Regions from separate parts of the Homo sapiens genome. Here region 1 is linked to region 2. Evidence: promoter capture Hi-C in 16 types of primary human blood cells and fetal thymus (Javierre and others, 2016). All regions are on one chromosome and are shown on one strand. The core of a region is centred on a gene start or on the middle of the fragment in contact, and the rest is flanking DNA. Distances in the headings are between cores, read along the strand shown. Region 1 has its middle 69 kb from the start of RTN4. Region 2 holds the start of REL (REL proto-oncogene, NF-kB subunit).

Region 1 (2,936 bases), core at 5-2,504, 5.8 Mb after region 2:
ATTCCTTGTGGTCAGTTAGATTTTTCCTGATGTTGTACTCATAGCTCCCTGAGCTTCCTCTATCATAATACTCAACACAAGATTTTTTACCAGTTTAACTGCAGGTAATTTTTACCAGACTGTGAGCTCCCTGAGAGCAGGGATCGGGACTGACTGTCTCATTCATTGGTCTATTTCCAGTCCCATGTATGGTGTCTGTCAGACACTGCACAATAAGTATTTGGTGAATGACTGGAAAACAGTCTCAGGACATAGAGCTGTTGCTGTTGTGTGGGATTCAAGGCTGATTCTGGGTTCTTGGGTTTAGTCTGGCGAAGGCATTGGATGCTGAACATTTTTATTGGGGGTATTTGGTTCTGTGGCCCCATGGGAATTTTTCCAGCTGTCCTGGTGGCCACCAGGGTTTCCTTATTGGTCAAGTTAACCCTGAAAGGAGACCCTGGGGACCCCTGTGGTTGAATGCCATGTCTGGAGCAGCTGCTGCCTGCAGCTATGTGTGTGTAAGCCGGAGACCCGAGCTTTTCTTAATCTCTGAGCCAGGCTGCTGACAATAAATAAGCTTTCCACCCAACAGCTGCTGACAGTCGCCTCCCACACAGCCCGCCCGAGCCCTGCCTGGAGATGGCATGTCTCCTTCCCCGTTGCTCTAATAATAACAACATTATATTCTCAGTCAGAGCTTGAGGGCTTCACTCAGAGACATTTTTTCACTTGCTTGAGAATGGGAGTTAGAGAAAGCATAGAAATGTAGAAAACTCATTTGGACATTTATTTAAACCATCTCAAACTTAATTTGGTCAGGTTCAAGTTGTTAAAGATCTCCTGCTCGTCTTCTGACTGCTGAGCAGTTGAAAGGGGACAAGCAGAATGGAGGGACAGTGAGAGGTTTGGGGGCCAGCCCCAGCTTGGAGGAAGGGCCCGTTGTAAAGCCTGGGCCGGAGGAAGGTTGGCAAGGCAGGGCCCAAGCCTGGGCTCTAGTTTCCCTGAGCCTGCCAGGGTGCCCAGCCAGGAGTTTCCTTCTGTCTGTGCCCACCCTGGTGAGCTGGAGATAGGGGGAAACCTGCTGGGAAAAGTGGCTTCGGAGAGCTAAAGTGAGGGGGGCAGGAAGCATTGCTTTCCTTCTAAGAACCTTTGCTTCCTTCGGCCTCAGCATCTGCCTGGGGTGACACAGGGTTGCTTTCTTCAGAGATGCGGCTGTGCTGTTCAGCCCCTCCTTAGGTTCTGCCAAGGCAAGGCCTGGGTGTCCAGAGTGGGCATGGGAATCATTCACCCACCCCACCTCTCAGTGCCGTGGGCCAGTCTGGGCCTCACGCAGCCCACAGCGAGGCATGGGTTTGCATTTTACAGTCACTTGCAATGACTGCGCTTTTTTCCAGTTCATGGGAGCAAATGGAGAGGTGTTCTGGGAATCCCATCTTCACCCTCCTGCATCTGAGGCTGGTGAGCAGCTGAGAGAAGGAGAAATGAGAAGCCAGCTGGTCAATGGTCTGACTCCTCCACCCCTGCATAATTATGGGTTGGCCATGTAGCTAATCCCGTTTTCTCAACAGCCCTATGACATGAGGGAGGAGGAGGTGGTTGTGGAAACCACATGCCCTAGATCCTAGTGGTGCTCCAGCAGTCTGGGAGCAAGGTTGCCCTGGGAGATCCCTGGGGAACTATTGACTTCTCTCCCTGATCTTTTGCTTTTTTGCCCCCTGTAATACTTTCATCATTTTCACTATGGCTAAGCGAGATTCCAAGTTGGGCTGGTCACTCTGCCCAGAGAATACAAGTTCTATGAAGAAAAGTGCTCTATAAATCCAAGGCATTATGAAATTTACTTCTACTATAAGGCTTTTATACTTGCATCCAATAAGTCTGTGTCCCCTATCTAAGGGATGAAGCCAGCCAGCTATCACACGAGCTCTCTGTTCTTAAATAGACTCAAGGCTTTGTTCAAAGCTTTTCAGGTGGATTCATTTAAAACTGCAGCTTCCCTGCCACTTTAAGAAATTCACCCTATCCATCGTCAGCCTGGTACTGTTGAGTATATTACCATTATACGTAGAGGCATAGACTATAGCTCCCAGTGTAGAAAACAAAACTTTAGATTGAGTAATTGCAGGAAACTTGACTGCAATTCACTGAGAATGTATTTTGACGAATAAGGAAAAAAACGTTTCAAAAAATAGGTCAGGGCGCTTTTAGGGAGCCCAAAAAACCCGCAAGGATTCTCTGCAGGTGTAATAATTGGGCAGTCCATCCAGCCTCCCACCTCTGTCTCCTTCCCTTGTATTTCTTTTCCAGGCTGCTGTCTGTGACAGCTCAGGAAGGGGCCCCAGGCAGCTCTCCTCTGAATTCTTCCCCCGATATCTCTCTGCCTTCTTCACACACAAATCAGCCTCACTAGCACCTCAGCTTCTATTTTTAGCTGCTGTTTTGCATTTTGTGTAGAATACAAGGAAATAGAATGCAGAATTTAGACAGGAGAAAAGGCAGGCTGCTTGCTTCCTGATAAATTGTCAGGGACCCATATCTGATGGTTGAAGCCTGATAGCAATCAGAACAGCAGGGAACAGAACGGTTGCGTCCTCATCTGCATTAGAGAGCAGTCTCTTTTCAGGGTTCCATGAGCTAGGGCCTTTCTGTCCTTTTCCCTCTGCACTGATGGCTGGTTGCATGGCTTCAGAATCCACTAGACTTAACTCCTGGTTTGGTGAAGATTCAACTTGACACAGATAATTGATAAAGTTGAGAGGGAGTTTGTGCATGTGTGTGAGTGTGTTTTGGGGGGCAGGGAGGATTGTTTTACAAAAGAATCGTGAACTAGATTCAATAGTCTGTCCACTAGAAGCAGAGGACCATATTCTATACCCTTTATCATGTGAAACTTCTTCCTGGGTGTCTTTTTTTTTTGAGACAGGGTCTTGCTCCATTGCCCAGGGTGTAGTGAA
Region 2 (3,244 bases), core at 711-3,210:
TTCTGATAACCAATACATTAACAAAATATTTGAAGTCATCTTAGCACTTCTAATCTACACATGCTTTGAATTCATAAATTTACACGATTATCTGAAAGTCTGGTGTCACTTAAGTGGGAAAAGGGAAAGTTGAAATATTTTAAACTACACTTAGTATTCTCACAACCACAAACAAACTGAAATCAAATGTCATGTGAAACACCCCAATTTCCTTTTCTGCCTACAGCAATAGCTATGGCATTGTTCTGCTCAACCTTTTAAAAAGGTTCTTTAAGCTTCCTACTTCCTCATCTCTACTAGACATCAGCCTACTTCTGAGGGTCACTGGACCAGGCAGTTTGGGGATAAGAGTCAAGTTCATAAACGGGGCCCCCTCTTCATTCTCTTAGTACAGCATTTAACATGCATTTAGCCCTCCCTGCCTTTGCTCACGCTGCTTCCTCTGTCTGGAAAGTGTCCCCCACTCACCTTGCCAAAATCCTGGTAAAAGACCAACTCGACCCCAGGCTACTTGATTTATCCCCCCGCCCCGGCTCTCCCGTCCCCCTCAACCTTAAGCTCCAGGCAGCCCCAACCACATCTGTGTATATAGGAGACTTTCTTGCTCTGCAATGTTTCTTACAAACTTATTCCCCCCCAAAGGGAGAGATCGAGCATTTATTAAGGGAAAATATATAGTCACATAAGTGATAAAGTTGTATTCATTCCTACTCATTATTTTAAAGCTCGGATATTCTAAAACTCCTCTTTCCCCTTATTTCCAGCGAGGAGGAAGGGGGATTCAACGTCTCTATTCGTCAGATTAGGAACCTTGAGCTTTATCTCACAGTAAAAACTACATTTTTTTTTTTTTTAAATAGAGACAGGGTCTCCCTCTGTCGCCCAGGCTGGAGTGCAGGGGCGCGATCTCGGCTCACTGCAACCTCCACCTCCCAGGTTCAAGCGATTCTCCTGCCTCAGCTTCCCGAGTAGCTGGGATTACAGGCGCGCGCCACCACGCCCCGCTGATTTTTGTATTTTTAGTAGAGACGGGGTTTCACCATGTTTGCCAGGCTGGTCTCAAACTCCTGACCTCTGGTTATCCACCCGCCTCGGCCTCCCAAAGTGCTGGGAATACAGGCATGAGCCACCGCGCCCGGCCTACACTTGGTCGAAGCAACATTAACACTTAAAATACCACGGATTTTCTAATTCGTGTTAAAATACCACGGATGATTTTTAAAGCCGTGACACATTTTGTACAACTGTCAGTACAAGGGGGATCACCTCTTTGCATTTGATGAAATTAAACTAAAAAGGGGGAGAGAGCTTGCCCGAGGTCTGAAGGTTCCTCATTCCTGTTCTAAAACATAAAACCACCATCTTCAATACATATACATTTTTAATGAGAACTCTTCGTCCTCCTTTGGTTCGCTTATGACTTCCCTAATCCTAAAATCAAGTCGTTGGGAATTTCTAAGGTTCCTGCTATGACAACAGGATCGAATTACAGAGCGTGGCTTGGATTCTGCACGCAAACCCTGAAGCAGGTAACTTTTTTAAAAGCTGACAATTTTACCATATGAGATTTTAAAGACAGAACGCGCCCCAGCAAAAACTGAGCTCCCTAAACTCACTGCGGCAGGACCCCCTTCAGAAGAGCTCCTTTCCCCCGGCCCAGGCCCGCGCCCCATGAACACTCACCGGAGGCCATGGCTCCGCTCCCCGCACCTTCCCGCAGGCAGCTCCCAGCGTCCTGGCCGGAGGCGGCCGCAGTCAGTCAGTCAGGAGGCCGAGGGACCTCTGCCGGCGGGGCCCCCAGTCCCCCGACCACCCTAGAGGCCTCCTCCTTCTTCCCGCCCTCCGCTGGGTTTGCGGCTCACACCTTCCCAACCCCTGAATTCTTGCACCCCGGGTCACCCAGCGTCGCCGTCCACCGTACGGGAGCCAGGGGCAGGGGGCGGAGCGGGGAGAGCCGAGTGCTGGCCCAGCCGAGAGGCGAGCAGCCTGGCGGGAGGGGAATTTCCCGCGGCTGACGTAGGCCCGACGCAGCAACCCTCACCCGGAGGCGTGGGCGGGGCGACCTCGCGGCCGCCGCGCGCGCGACCGCCCCCAGCGCCCCGCCCCTGCCTGTCCCCGCGCACGCTCCCCGCCGGCCCCCACGCATACGCCCCCGGCGCTGCTGCGGCGGCTGGCTTGGGAGGGGGTCGAGGGAGCGGGAGCTTGGGGTGGGCTTCGGGAGCGCAGGGAACGGCGGGAGCCGGGAGGTGACGGCTAGCAGCGTGAGAAGGCCGCTGGCTCCTGAGAAATCCCCCTCCTCCAGGTTGTTCTTCCGAGTGTGGTTTAAAGTTCAGGAGCGGGCGGGAGGGTGCGGATGACGTAGAGAGGGCCGGCCGCTGGGGAGCTTTTGGGGGCGCGCGGGGCCGACTCTCCCGGCCTGGGAGGGCGACGGCCGGGGTTTTCGAGAGGTGGTTCCCCCTCTTCCCGACTTCGCACATGCAAATCTCCACCCCCGCGCCAGCGGCGGGACGTTGCGCCCTGTAGGGGGAAGTGGTGCTGCGGCGGGGGTCCTGTCTTCTTCTGTAATTCCTGTATTTGCATACGGGGACCCCCCCCCCGACTGATTTTTTTTCCTCCATCTAAATTGCGAGGGTACTGTGAACTTTACGTATTTTACCTACTGAAACCCGTTTAAACTCAAAAGGTCCGCACTTGGAGTTCGTTGTCTCATTAGGCAGTGCACTGAAGTTTAGTGGACACTATATCCTGAGATTTCACACAGATGCCAAGAAAGGCGGAAATGGAGCACACATTTAGTGCATTAAAGGACCTAGGATAACTTCGTTTCCTTCATTTGAATAGTACCTGCTATGCATCAGATAATGTCCATACTTAATCTATGACGTATTTATTATTCCTAACTTTATAGATGAAGTATTCGGGGTTCAGAGAAGTTACTTCAACATACAGTACTTCAGAATGCTGATAAAAGGCACAGTTTAAAGCCAGGGTTGTCTGACTCCAAAGCTCCATGCCCTTGCCCCTGTCCCTTACTAGTTAAAATTAGTACGGAGAGGTAATGGGGAATATCAGCCTGCCATACAAGTGCCCAAAACTGGGGGACCCATATGGGCAAATAATTTAAAATATCCTGCCAACCCCAAACTGTTCTTTCCACGAAATGCGCAATGTACAACAAAAGAATGAAACAGTTTTATTATTGGATATGTACTAAAACGTACCATGATGCACATCACAGGCAATC

Evidence for each region. Contacts are between HindIII fragments. The CHiCAGO score rates a contact against its expected background, and 5 or more counts as called.
Region 1: a contact is called between a fragment that was not itself captured here and the fragment with the promoter of REL in region 2, in 1 of 17 cell types (M0 macrophages). The highest score is 9.1, in M0 macrophages.

What each region holds. Positions count from the first base shown.
Region 1 is chr2:55,118,427-55,121,362 of GRCh38, reverse strand. It overlaps a transcript of RTN4 not described here. Among named protein-coding and RNA genes, the nearest start is that of RTN4, 69 kb to the right of the region's middle. The HindIII fragment of the contact is 1,385 bases long and covers 562-1,946 here.
Region 2 is chr2:60,880,290-60,883,533 of GRCh38, reverse strand. It overlaps REL (REL proto-oncogene, NF-kB subunit), which reads right to left and starts at 1,960. Exons shown (of 10, transcript NM_001291746.2): 1 at 1,684-1,960. The coding sequence starts at 1,693. REL-DT (REL divergent transcript) reads left to right here and starts at 2,220. Exons shown (of 3, transcript NR_033980.1): 1 at 2,220-2,302. RefSeq lists an enhancer at 1,548-2,217 and a silencer at 1,826-2,365. The HindIII fragment of the contact is 7,860 bases long and covers 278-3,244 here.